Regions from separate parts of the Homo sapiens genome. Here regions 1 and 2 are each linked to region 3. The links are contacts of gene promoters, found by promoter capture Hi-C in human tissues and cell types (Jung and others, 2019). All regions are on one chromosome and are shown on one strand. Each heading gives the region's core, a stretch centred on a gene start or on the middle of the fragment in contact. The rest is flanking DNA. Distances are from core to core; before and after follow the strand shown.

Region 1 (4,784 bases), core at 1,739-4,238, 45 kb after region 3:
CTCTAGGAAATGGGAGGGAGATTATTACACAAGAATACATATTGTAGGGAGAAATAAAGATGTGCCTATCAATTCTGTGTTCTATCCCAGAAATTGGGCGATGCAGATCCAAGATGCTCAGCGATGCTCATTTATTTGCTTTGGAGAGAGAGAGAGAGCGGGAGAGAGATGAGAGGGAGAGAGTTGGAAGGTGTTTCAGCCCTGGGAAGCCAGCACTATTGTGCTGGGCCCTGGCATGGCACTGAGGACATTGCTTAAGAGCTCACAATCAACTTATGATTAAAAATATGATGGAGAAGATTCTGGGTGTTGTCTGGCCTGGCAGACTCCTCAAGCTTAAAAGGGGAAGGAGGTTTCCTTTCTGTCAAGTTTTGCTTCGTGAATCAAGAGAAATTGTGTCACAGGTCCAAATTTAGAGTGTTTAAAGGATATTGCCTAATGACATATTAACTTGTGGGCTTACTTATTCACTGCTGACTCTTCTTTCATGGACTCTTCTCAATTCTGCTTTGAACTGGGAAGGAGGCGACAGCTGTGGGTAATGCGAGGATGCTGGGATGCTGAGGTGGGGGTGGGGGTGGTGGCAGTGGACAGATTGGTCCCTCCTCATCTCAATTGTCCTTCCTTTAACCCTGGGCAATATCTCAAACAAGCCCTGCCTCCTGAGGGGTGAGATCTCAAACAAGGCTCACCATCCAGTGCAGCCTGCTCAAGGCACTCTCTCTGCCAAGGGCCTCACAGCCCCTGACCTGGGCTGCTTCCCACAGCATCTGCCAGCTCCAGGCTTATCCCACATCAGGACCATTCTACCAGAAGCTGTATACCTTGCCAGGGGAAATCTCTTACCCTGCCACATTTTCATTATGATACTCCTCCCACCTCTACACCTATAGTGCTAACTCATTGGCTACCATATTAGTGAAGCCCCAATTCAGTACCATTTCAACCCCTCTACCAGGCAGCAGTGTTGCCAGCCTACCAGGCAGTGTAGCTCTGCCTCCCAAAGGCTGAGGAGGATGTCGGTCATTGATGACCACACTCTGATTCTCCCAAATCTTTCTCAAAGCAGCCATCAAATGGCCACTAGCTACAAGCATGAGTTAGCAAGGAAGATTGCTCAGCAAGTAACTATTTGTGGCTCCTATGCTCCAAGCACGCTTCTGGGCCTTAAAGACAAAGCAGAAAACACAGAAAAGCACATGCCCTCATAGGAGACAGACAAGCAGGTATACAATTGGGCGTCAGATAGGGAAAATAACATCATGAAGAAAAACTAAAGCAGGTTAAGGAGATGAAGTTTCCTGGGGAGTCATTTTGCTAATGGGAGTCAAAAAAGGCCTTCTAAGAGATGGTATTTGAATAGAGAACTGATCGAAGTGAGGGAACCAGCCCTGCAAACATCCAGGGGGAGAGCCTTCGGGGCAGGGGACAGCAAGTGCAAAGGCCCTGGGGTGGGAGCCCACTTGAGATCTGTTTGCCATCCTTGTCTTGCAGCCTGGCTCCAATCTACTGCCCCAGCCCATTTTCGTCTCCTGGCCAAGGGCAATCATTGTTCACACGTGCGTAATTCTCATCTTTGTCTCTGAGTTTGCAGTTACAATAAAGTGCTTGCAAAGTCTTGTTTAAATGGCTGAAATCCCTCCTGGAAGCTGCAGGAATTCAGAGGCTTGGATGTAGGTAAATGAAACAACCCTTGTTTTGCTTTCTGGCTAAATGTTGACCCTTCTTATTTATGTAAGGAGATCAATTAGTCATGGAGAAGGGGTCAACTGACCTCTTGGATATTTGGTCCTGAACCATTTAGGAAGGTTTTGCCTTTTATTTAAGATCCTTAGCAAGCTTCCCTTGAAGTTACGTCTATTTTTATAGCCTGCCCCCTCACCTGCCCTCCGTCCTTCTTTCCTCCCTTCATTCCTCTCTTCCTTCCTCCCCACCTCTTTCCCTCTCCCAACTTGCTTTTCCCCCTTGTCTCCATCCTCCCTCCCCACACCTCCCCTGGTGTTCTGTGATGAACGCAGTGATGCAACTTGGGGCTTGTGGGTCTTCCCCGAAGGACTTCTGGAGGGGGCTCCTCCTTGATAGCCCCCATGCTGCCTGTTACCTGCACAGTGGGGGTCTTAGAGTTCATCCTGGCCTCCTGCCTGGGAGGACCCTAGCAAGCTCCACCTTTGGGATTTCGTCCACCCCTGTCCAGTTGCTGCTTCGCTCCTCTTCTTGGTTTGGGTTTGCTGGCTTCTATTATTGGAGGTGGATCTCAGGGGATCTCGCGGGAATGCTCAGCACACGCACGGTTCATCTACTTAGGCTCCACAGTGCCTTGTTTTCTTTATGGTCAGGCATATTTTGTTTCCATATTACTGGATCCATCCAGAGTCATTTTGAAGATTTTTTCCAGTGATACTGTTGGATGATGGAGAATCTCTGGATATGTGTGGGGGCAGGTGGGCAAAGGGAGTTGGGCATGGAGGTGGATTATAACATCAAACATTCGTCTCCAGCTCTCAGAACAAACCAAAGCCAAATATCCACATTCTGAGTGTTTCTGCTTCTGCCAGGGCCGAACATCTCCCTTTTCCATTTTGTTTGTACCTTTAGGACTTGTGTCAATGACCTCCCCTCTGACCTTTCCTACATCTGAAGAACTCTTATTTTTACTTTTTATTTTTTGAGACAGAGTCATGCTCTTTCGCCCAGGCTAGAGTGCATTGGTGTGATCCGGGCTCACTGCAACCTCTGCCTACTGGGTTCAAGCGATTCTCCTGCCTCAGCCTCATGAGTAGCTGGGACTACAGGCATGCGCCACCACACCTGGCTAATTTTTTGTATTTTCTAGTGGAGACAGGGTTTCATCATGTTGGCCAGGCTGGTCTTGAACTCCTGACCTCAGGTGATCCACCCACCTCAGCCTCCCAAAATGCTGGGGTTACAGACATGAGCCACCACGCATGACCAGAACTCTTATTAAACTCATACTTTGCTTTTTGTTTCATTCAGGGTATGCTAGTTATTAAAAACAAACAACAAACAAAATCTGAGTGGCTTAAAGGAATGACAACGTAATTCTTGCTCATGTCACAGTCCATGTGGGTTGGGCACTGGAACCAAGTCCCTTCCATTGTGGCAGAAGCATCTTCAACCTGTGACCTCCTAGGGTACCAAAGAAGGATGGAGAGTGGAGGATCTCCTTGGAATGTTCCAGAGGCCAGGTCTGAGGGTGGCAGGTGTAATTTCTCACCATGTTCTTTTGGCCAGAACTCAGGCAGCTGGTCCTGCCTCTCTGCCAGAGGCACTGTAATGTAGTGAAGTTATCGGCCCAGGAAGAAAAGGGACACATTTGATGGGCACATAAGCACTGTCTCTGCTCTATTTGTTGATGCTTCACTTTGATTATATGTTGTCTAATTATCTTCATGGATGCAGAAAAGTGTTAAGGGGCCTCAGAAGTTTAATTTAAACATCTCATTTTGCAGATGAGGCCCAGAGAAGCAAGGTGACTTGCCAGGTGCAGTTTAGACTAGAATATTCCTCTTCAGATTCCTGGCCCGGAACTTACAATTCCACCCCTAAGCATTTTGCATTATTTTTACCTGACCAAGAAGCCATATACTCACTGAAGTTGGGAATTAGGTCTCTAATCCCAGCTCTTAGATTCGTGCTGGGTGTGAAGTAAACCCTATAATTGATCAGAAGTGAAGTTGCAGGGCACAAGTTTCCCTTTCCAAAGGGGAAACTCTCACGAGGACCTTTTTTATACAGAGGGAGAGGGTGAAAGAAAGAAGGCATATGGCCATATTTCACAAATCTAGGACGCCAATGTCTGAAAGATGCCCCATAATTTAGTTACCACCAAGGAAAAAAAACGCTGTAAATTAAATGTAGCAAAATGCTTTCTTATCACTTCAATTATAATTTTATACTTAGTAATAGAGCTAATATAGGTTTAATAAGATAGATTTGTTAAACTGGAGTTACATATCCATAAAATTCACCATTCCAACCTTTTTTTGGGAGGGAGGGGGTCTCTCTGTCACCCAGGCTGGCATGCAATGGTGTGATCATGGCTCACGATAGCCTTGAACTCCCAGGCTCAAGTGTTCCTCCCACCTTAGCCTCTTAAGTAGTTGGGACCACAAACACGCACCACCATGCCTGGCTAATTTTTAAAAATTTATTTTTGTACAGACAGGGTCTCACTGTGTTGCCAGGGTTGCTGTCAAGCTCCTGGGCTCAAGCAATCCTCCCACCTTGGCCTCCCAAAGTGCTGGGATTACAGGCATGAGTCACTACCCCCAACCTTCAACCATTTTCTAAGTGCAGAGTTAAGTGGCATTAAGTACATTTACATTGTTATGCAACCATCACGCTTTATCTCTAGAACTTTTCTGTCTTTTCAAACTGAAATTCTGTACCCATTAAACAATTCCCCAGTAACTCCTCCTCTGAGCCCCTATTACCCACTACTCTATTTTGTGTCTCTATGGATTTGACTATTCCAGGTACCTCATGTAAGTGGAATCATACAGTAGTGGTCCTTTTGTGAGTTGCTGATTTTGTTTAGCATAATGTCTTCGAGGCTCTTCCACATTGTAGCCCATGTCAGCGCTTCCTTCCATTTTAAGGCAGAATAATAATATTCCATTGTGTATATGCACATTTTGTTGTCCATTCATCCATGGATGGGCACTCAGGCTGCTTCTGGCTAGTGTGAATAATACCGCTACGAACATGGGTGCGCAAATATCTGTTTGAATCCTTGCCTTCAGTTACTTTGGTATATAGCCAGA
Region 2 (4,383 bases), core at 605-3,104, 62 kb after region 3:
TTTCAAACCTGGGTGATGGTCATCATCACATCACGTGTGCCTCATCCAAGCATGTGCGGAGCTCCTTCAGGCCCTGTCCTAGGTGCTGAGGAGAAAGTGGTTGAACGGACAAGCCAAAGTGCCCATCTGCACAGAGCTTATATCCTGGGGGTGGGGCTGGGGAGAAAGGAATGGAAATACACGCCTTTGTTTCTTTCGAGAGCATTATGACCTAGGAACTGCAGGCCAACCATGCTCTTCTCCAGCGATTTGCTATTCATTCACCCCTGAAAACAGGTTCCCATCTGCTTCATCAACCTCACTCACACTGACATGAAGATATCATTAGAGCTTTTAGCAGGAAAGCTGGAGTCAGTTATAGCCAACTTAGAAATCCATGTTTATTTTTTTTTCTCCTTCAGGTTATCAAAGACGTGTTCCTAAAGAGAGCCAAGGTGTCCCACAACTATCAGTCAAGTGCGAGCGGGTGACCTGCTACCCGCTAAAGAGAGGGATTTTTCAGTTGTTACTCATTCTTAGTTCCTAGCACCGGGGCTAAGAAGCCCACCCTCCCAGCTCCAAGGACCTCTCTCATTTATATGGCGTATACCTTTCTTTTTTTTTCTTTCTTTTGTTTTACTTTTTTGGAGATAGAGTCTTGCTCTATCCCCCAGGCTGGAGTGCAGTGGCACGATCTTGGCTCACTGCAACCTCCGCCTCCCAGGTTCAAGGGATTCCCATACCTCAGCCTCCCGAGTAGCTGGGATTACAGGTGCATGCCACCATGCCCAGCTAATTTTTTGTATTTTTAGTAGAGACAGGGTTTCACCATGTTGGCCAGGCTGGTCTTGAACTCCTGACCTCAAGTGATCTGCTCACCTCGGCTTCCCAAAGTGTTAGGATTACACGTGTGAGCCACCGCACCTGGCCAGCACGTAACTTTCTATTTGTTTTTCTTCTGCCTTCAGAATAATCATTTTGCTTCTGATTTCTTCTCTGACACTAAGACTGGGAGTCACAGGTCAAGAGGAAAACCACAGATTAGGAACAAAGAGGAATGCACTAATGGGCAAGAACATATAAAGCTTACAAATAATAGGTTGAGAGCTTTTCCAACTGTCCGTCTTGCCTCTGCCCTCTGAGGTTGGAGGTCGGCAAATGTGTTCTGGCTGTGGGTAAAAACTGCTGTGTTTTCCTCGTTGACCTAAGTGCCATAAATGCGTCCTCCAGGTTCTCTCATTAAAGATGAATTTGGGTAGATTAGAGATGGGGAAAAAAAAACAGCGGAAGGTAAAAGGTTTTCATCACTTAATAATACCAATTTTATCATCACTTAGCATAACTTATTTCTGCCAATTTTATCATCACTTACAATAACTTCCATTAGGGTAATAAGGCATTAAGTATATGTTGATTGCAAATAATCTGGTTACATTCACTAATTATATGGAGACTGATTTTTTTCCTGTTTGAAATATAATTTTAAAACATCTCTACTTCCTAAAAACAGGACATATCAAAGTAAGGAGACACATATGCTGTGGAGATAGAAAATGAAATTCTTGTGTATTTGGCAAGTGCCTGATTACAAGATGAAAATAGACGGAGAATTCATCTGCAGAAATAAAGAATGTAAATGGCTTGCTGCGGCTGATTTGCTCTCACCTTCTCTCCCTTGGGGTCAAATTAATATATTTACTACTGATAAGGTGTTTTATATAGCAGAGGTGTTGGTGCTCAAATGCCATCTCACAGAGTAGGGGGCTGCTCTGAACACATGCTCTTTAGAGAGATTAAGTATAAATTGCCAGGCTCGGAATTTTATGAGTCTTCCATAGCTGTGAAGTGCTGGTTTAGGTAGGGGATAGAGAGGCTTTGGATGCATTAGATTGTCATTTAGAGCTGCTATAAAATTTTGTAAGCCTGTCCATTCTAACCCAGCTTTCAGATGGCTATCATCACTCAACGGTAATAATGACACTACTAGTATGACTAGCAAGTTGCAACTTGAAGATTGACACATATGGACTAAATTCAAACTATTGTTTCCAACTTGATAAAACACCCCTTGGCTGTTTGCAAGTTTATGAGATCACAAATGCCCTGTGCATCCAAACCAGAGCTAGATTTTCAGAGATGCCATTTTTGGTATTTCTGGAATTGGAAGTAGTTTCCTATCAGCCAGCCACAGACATTTTCCAATCTATTTTTCAGTAAAGTGTTCAGATTTTTTTTTTTTTTTGGCTTAGAAGAAATAAAAAATGACTCAGATTTCAATTAAAAACATAATGATAATGATAGTTTGCACTGTGTCATATTTTCAACTATTTAAAAACAATTTTGTGTTTTTGCTCGCTTTTAAAGATCCTGAGCGTGAGGAGAATTTGTGTGATTTATTGCACTTTATAGATTAAACAGGCATTCGCTCCATTTTACAGACAAGGAACTGAGGCTTAGAGAGACCAGTGACTTGCTCAAGGTCACGCATCAAGTAAGTGTCAGCATGAAGACTGGGAGGCTCCAGGTGTCCTGCTCTGCAGCTTTCAACCGTAGCACATGAAATATGGATGATAGGAAATGCAAACCACTCCTTTCACTGTTAACTAAACCACAATGCACTTTCACCGCAATCTTCATGAGTATGGCTCTTACAGAAGGCTGTGACCTTTCGTATGAGATCTGGTCAGCCTGGGCCGATGTGAGGGCCTGTCAAGCTCACGGGATGGTGTCTTTATGTTTTGCACACTTGCCGTCAGATCAGTGTGAAGAGGTGTCTGAGACAGCCAAAACTGGGCTGCCTCTATGTTTGGAGAGTGGGGCACATGTGAAGTGGCTGCGGGGACACCAGCTGTGCCACAGCATTGCCAAGGGCCTTCAGGGCTCATTGACTGCACCTAGAGGCATCTCTCAAGTTGCGCAGTCACTGTGGTTTCCTTCCTAAAAGTAATGAAAGGTGGGAATAAGTTCTGTCTCCCTGAAGGTTTCCAGACAGCAAATAAGAAACCTAGCACAGGCTGGGGCACTGTAACTCACGCCTGTAATTGCAGCACTTTGGGAGGCTGACGGGGGAGGATCACTTGAGACCAGGAGTTCTAGACCAGCCTGGGCAACATAGCGGGACTCCATGTCTATAAACAATTTAAAAATTAGCCAGGCATGGTGGTTGCATGCCTGTAGTCCCAGTTACTTAAGGGGCTGAGGCAGGAGGAGTGCTTGTGCCTGGGAGGTCAAGGCTCCAGTGAACCATGATTGTGCCACTGCATTCCAGCCTGGGTGACAGAGTGAGACCCTGTCTCAAAAACAAAAAAACAAAACTAGCATAATTCAAATTTGAATATGCCCTAAGATAGGATAAGTATGTCCCTTCTGATTGCAGATTGTTACCTGAGGGTGTATGCATTCCCAATGACATTGCTACTATACTTGATATCTCACCTTGGGAGAAAAAAAAAGGTCAAGAAAGTTTAAGTCAAAAAAAGTCATAGTCCAAGGAGGAGAGCTTTCCTTGATTTCAGTCTCTCCCATCTGTGTGTGCCATCCACAATTAGAATCACACATTACAAGTTCCTGGGTGATTCCAGGGCCAAGGGAAGCAAGGTTTATATATTGCTGAGGAGAATGCTCCAACCTGAATTGTAAGATGCGTCTTGCTGTCACATTCTACTTGCATTTCTAAAACTGTAAAAAGGAATTGCTTGGCTTCCCTAAGTGTAAAATCACTAAGGTGAGATTATGTTTCCATGTTACGATGCCCCCATCACCTCTTGAGATTTACTGAGCAAGATGCCTTGTGGGAGGGGGTTTAAATGCACAGATGTAAGCCCTGCAATCCCAACACTCACAATCTTTATATTAACAAGAACATGCTTCTAATTATTCCAAATTCTGTTAAAATTAAGCCCAAATGTTCAATTTTCCACGTGTTCCTCTTAATTAGAAATGAAATGAAAGAGAAAAAGAAACCATCAAAATTATATAAATAAAAACAGATGGAAGAGAGTGTTGGAAGCTCTTTTCTATAACATTCCCTTTAATAAAATTCATTGGTTAATTTGGTTGATAAAAGCAGCGTTAAAATTAAATAAGAATTAACATACACTCGGATAAATATTTGTCGCTTCTTTCATGTGCTACCATGATAAAGGTAATTTAGCTTAAAAGCAGTCATCATCTTTCTTCATAACTGATAAAGCATTACTAATTGTGTGTGTTAATATGGTACAATATGGAATTGAATAGAGATTTTATCTTAATAACATCTCCATTAAATTAAGGACAGTGTTGTATGACAGGAAAGATAAGTCTGTTTATTCCAAGCCAGCACATCAAAAGAACAACTGTGGGAGATGGTGCAATAACTAACATTTTCTATAGTGTTCTAGCTGGCAGCCTCACATTTATAAG
Region 3 (4,347 bases), core at 86-2,585:
TGCAAATCAAATATACATATGCATAACACCACTAAACACTAAGTGCAGTTACGCCTAGAACAAGGGAATAGCAGTTGACAGAAACACAACCAAAACTAAGAATATTAAATGTCTGTATTACTTTCACTGTAATCACTTCACTTCAACAGTGAGATGGGATAGCCCTAGGTAAAGGAAGGTGCTCTTGTAGTTAGAACATTCTTAAATTTTGCACCAAGGAACACATGCTTTTAATAATGGCAGAGACAACATTTTTTGATGGATTATTTAGTTTGTACGATCAACATTCAAAGAATGAGTTTACCACCACTTTGTTATTGTAAACACTTGACCTTTAGCTACCTGAATGATCCCCTCTTTGAATAAAAGGAATTATGAAACACATGTGTAGACATATTTCATTTTTATATATGTGAGACTCGAATAGCAAGGAAATCACATATTAGGAAAAAAACCCCTTTGTCTTGCTATTAGTTCTCTTTGGTTTCAAAAATCTGGTCACTGTGTATATTGCATTATATCATATGTGTGTGTACATATATATACACACATAAACACACATACACACAATGTCATGTGTATAAATACATGATGTGTTTATGCACATACACAGACACACACACACAAATACACACATATACAATGTTCCATCCAAGAAATACAAATATAGTGCTGTTAGCCCCTAACAGTGAGGAGGTCATTATTCCAAGTCATTTCTGCAGAAGTGACGGTGGCCTTAGGTGGAACTGCCCATGATCTCTCCTTGCAAGCTCACTCACTGGGGCCATTGACTGGGATCCAGTCTGTGGCCATGTCATGGTTTCTATTTTTGAGGTTATAGCTAATGAGCAACATGAGGTTAAGACACACTTTTCATAAGGCCCCAGCCAGCATCATAAATATGTGTGTGAGCATGTTCACACTCAGGTTATGTCTTCTTTATGTGCACCCTCTACCACACACACACACACACATGCACACGCACACACACTGACGGCTTCAGTGACCAACTTTGGTCACATCCCATCTCTTCCTTCTCAATCCCTCTGGCTGTTCACCAGGGCCTGGACCATCTCGGTGAGGCTGACCAAGAATGCTCCCCCTGCCCTGACCAGCGGAGCATGGGCACAGCTACTTAGAGCGCCACCCTTCAGGACACAAAGTCGGGGCTACCTCTCTTCCAGGCAAGGCATCCTAGAGGGCCCGCACACCCTCCAGTTTGATCTTACCTCTCAGCTCCCGTTCCTTTTCTTTCTCTCCCCAGTAAGTCGTTGAACGTCTTTCTTCTGAGGCTGAGCGTGGAGCTCTCTTCTCGCTGGCGAGCTTTCTGAATGGCACTTTCTGTACAAACAGGAAGAGCATGTGTGGTCACAACCCAAGTGTGCAGGTGTTGATAGAGGATGTGAAAGTGTGGAGGCGAGTGACTAAACCAGATACCCAACCGGCCAACTCTCACTTGTGGCAGGGCCTGGTCTACCAGAAGGCTGGAAGCAGGAACCTGGACTCTACTCTGGGGAGACCAACTGACAAAAGCAGAGGATGGTGGCCCTGGAGGCCAAGGGAGAAGGTCTCTTTGACTCCTGTGCTTTCTAACCCTATGCAGACCCATAAAAGAATCCCAGGAACATTTTGGAATCTCTTAGATATATGATTATCAAGAATGTTGATTTCAATGGGCTGCTTAACTTGTCCAAAGCTCTGCTGGTTTCCCAGGCTGTCTGGGCCTCCAAGAGATCAGGACCAAAGGCTCATCCTGCATTGGAACTGTGACAAGTCTTCCAGACCTTTCTAGAACAAAGCTACACCAGGAAAGAAGAGTCTTAGGCAAGGAATCAGATGTCCTAAGGCTGCTCTACATGACCTACATGATGGGTGTTACCTCCTCATCTCCCATTCAGTCAACCCACGGGCACTGGACTTCCTGCCCGACACCCTTCCCTCTCCCCATTCATGCCTGGAATTATTTTCACTAATGACACCAGGGATTCACTAATGGATGCTTTTTCAGTTCCTGTCCTATTTGTCTCCACTGGCAGTGTTTGACTTCCCTGTAGTGTTGACCATTTCTTTCCTCCCAGAACTTCTGCCTGGGCCGCCATGACTCCATACTCTCCTGGTTTTTGTCAGGCGGTCTCTCACACTGGCAGGCTTCCATTCTTTGGTCTTAATTTTCGCCCTCCTGCAAGCTCCACTCTCCGCCTCATGGTTCCTGTTCTCCATGGGTGGCCTCTTCCCAGCTCCAGATGGAACTTGCCAAGCCCACATCCATAGCATCACACATTTCTGCTGTTCTCCTGGAACATCCCCCAGCACCTCCCGTCAGACTCGCCACAATGAAACCCTGCTCTGTCCTCTACCCCACTCATTACTTACCATGTGGCCTGTGAATTCCCTCCTGCCTTGTCCCAGCTTGCTCCTCAGGTCTCTACCCCCTTCTGAGTTTACCACCTTCTGATCTCTCACTTTGCCTCTGCTAATCTGGCTTCTTCAGGTTTGACCCTCCATTATCCTCATCCAAACAGGCCCGTCCTTATCCTGAGAATGGATACCTAGAAACTTCCCCACCCAGTCCTATCCCAAGCCCTGGGAAATTATCCCAGTATTGTCTGCCTCATGTCCCTGGCAAGGAGAAAACGTTTCTTTATCTTATACCCAAACCAGAAATGGGGAGGCTTCCCACGTTCTTCTCTTTGCTGAATACTCTTCAACCTTCCATCACCAAGCCCTGCCCATTCTACCTCTTCAGTCACTCCTCAGATCCTTCTTCCCGTCCGCATCTCCACAGCCACACCCTCCCTCCATTGCCTCTCATCACTGCCCTAATCCCCAAGGGGTACGTGCACCCAGGGCACACCAGACCGTTCACTGAAGGATGAGAAGAAAGGAATTGAATGTCTATCTACCCACACTTGTCTGGTTTTTGTATTTAATTAAGACTCACATACCATAAAATGAGCCGTTTTAAGATGGGGAATCCTGTGGCATTGAGTACACTCACAATGCTGTGCAGCCACCACCTCCATCGAGTTCCCAGACTTACATCTATTTTTACGTCATGTTTTTAGTGTTTACATTTTGTGTATGTTTCAAGGCATGCAATGTGTGAATACAGTTGTATTGTATATCATTTGTGAATAATCATACATCTGCTCAGAATAGGCGGCAAAGACTTTTTTGCTGAAGAAGATACAAAATTAGAAAAGTGGGGACACGTGACCTCCTAACTCATCTCTCACATGTCAGGCTCTAGAGTGTTTTCCAAACTGCCTCCAAATTTTCTCTGCAAAAGACTACAAAAATGATGACAGTACACTCCCCTCACCCCACGACCAGTCCTTAAACGCTTCAATGGCTCCCTGTCACCCACAGGAAAATCCCAAGGCTCCATCGCTGGGCAGGCGAGATGTTGGATTCAGTGGCCTCTGCCCACTCCCCAATACCATCTCTTGCCATCCTTGATACCACTTCCTTCCTCACCACCCAACAATCCCACCACCACTCATGGTTTCTTGAACTTTCAGGCTGCTTTATGTCACAGCTTTGCACATGCTATTTCCTCTTTCAGGGTGCCTTCACTTCCATTGGCTATCTGGCAGATCCCCATGGATATTAAAAACCCTTCCATCCTGCTCATCTCAAAGCAGAATTCCTCACCTGTGCGGGCTGAAGCCATTGCCTTCATGTTAGATGATACTATGGGCAATTTGATGGTCAGGAGGGTGGGCTCTGCCTCCAGAAAGACCTGGGTTTGGGTTCAGCCTCTATCATTTACTAGCAAGGGTAACTTGGGGATGTTACGTTCAGCTTCCTCGTCTATACGGTACCCACTCATAGAGTGACTGTAGAAATTAAACAACATAGTGTGTGTGCAGGATGTCATAAGTATTCAGTAAGTGGTGGAGATTATCATGATGGTTATTCTGTTTGTTTACCTCACTATTCTGTAAACTGCTTGTAAAATTTATAAATTTCATACCAAGGAGAGCTACTACTTCTAAGGCAGAATGTCTTCATTTTAATTAAAAAGTTGGCCAGGATTGGTGGCTCATGCCTGTAAGCCCAGTGCTTTGGGAGGCTGAGGCAGGAGGATTGCTCGAGGCCAGGAGTTCGAGACCAGTCTAGGCAACGTAGTGAGACCTTGTCTGCACAAAAAAATTAAAAATTTTTAAAAAATAGCTAGGTGGTTAGACGTGGTGGCTCATGCCTGTAATCTCAGCACTTTGGGAGGCTGATGTGGGCGGATTGCTTGAGGTCAGGAGTTCGAGATCAGCCTGGCCAACATGGTGAACCTGACCAACATGGTGAAACCCTGACTCTCCTAAAAATATAAAAATTAACCGGGCATGG

Evidence for each region. Contacts are between HindIII fragments. The study calls those that stand out against the background at their distance.
Region 1: a contact is called between a fragment that was not itself captured here and the fragment with the promoter of AFF3 in region 3, in 1 of the 25 tissues and cell types used here (mesenchymal stem cells).
Region 2: a fragment that was not itself captured here is called in contact with the fragment with the promoter of AFF3 in region 3 in 2 of the 25 tissues and cell types used here (mesenchymal stem cells and neural progenitor cells).

What each region holds. Positions count from the first base shown.
Region 1 is chr2:100,184,234-100,189,017 of GRCh38, forward strand. No RefSeq gene overlaps it. Among named protein-coding and RNA genes, the nearest start is that of LINC01104, 22 kb to the right of the region's middle. The HindIII fragment of the contact is 3,802 bases long and covers 1,088-4,784 here.
Region 2 is chr2:100,202,708-100,207,090 of GRCh38, forward strand. No RefSeq gene overlaps it. Among named protein-coding and RNA genes, the nearest start is that of LINC01104, 3.4 kb to the right of the region's middle. The HindIII fragment of the contact is 6,322 bases long and covers 1-4,383 here.
Region 3 is chr2:100,141,255-100,145,601 of GRCh38, forward strand. AFF3 (ALF transcription elongation factor 3) reads right to left here and starts at 1,336. Exons shown (of 25, transcript NM_001386135.1): 1 at 1,230-1,336. The HindIII fragment of the contact is 13,656 bases long and covers 1-4,347 here.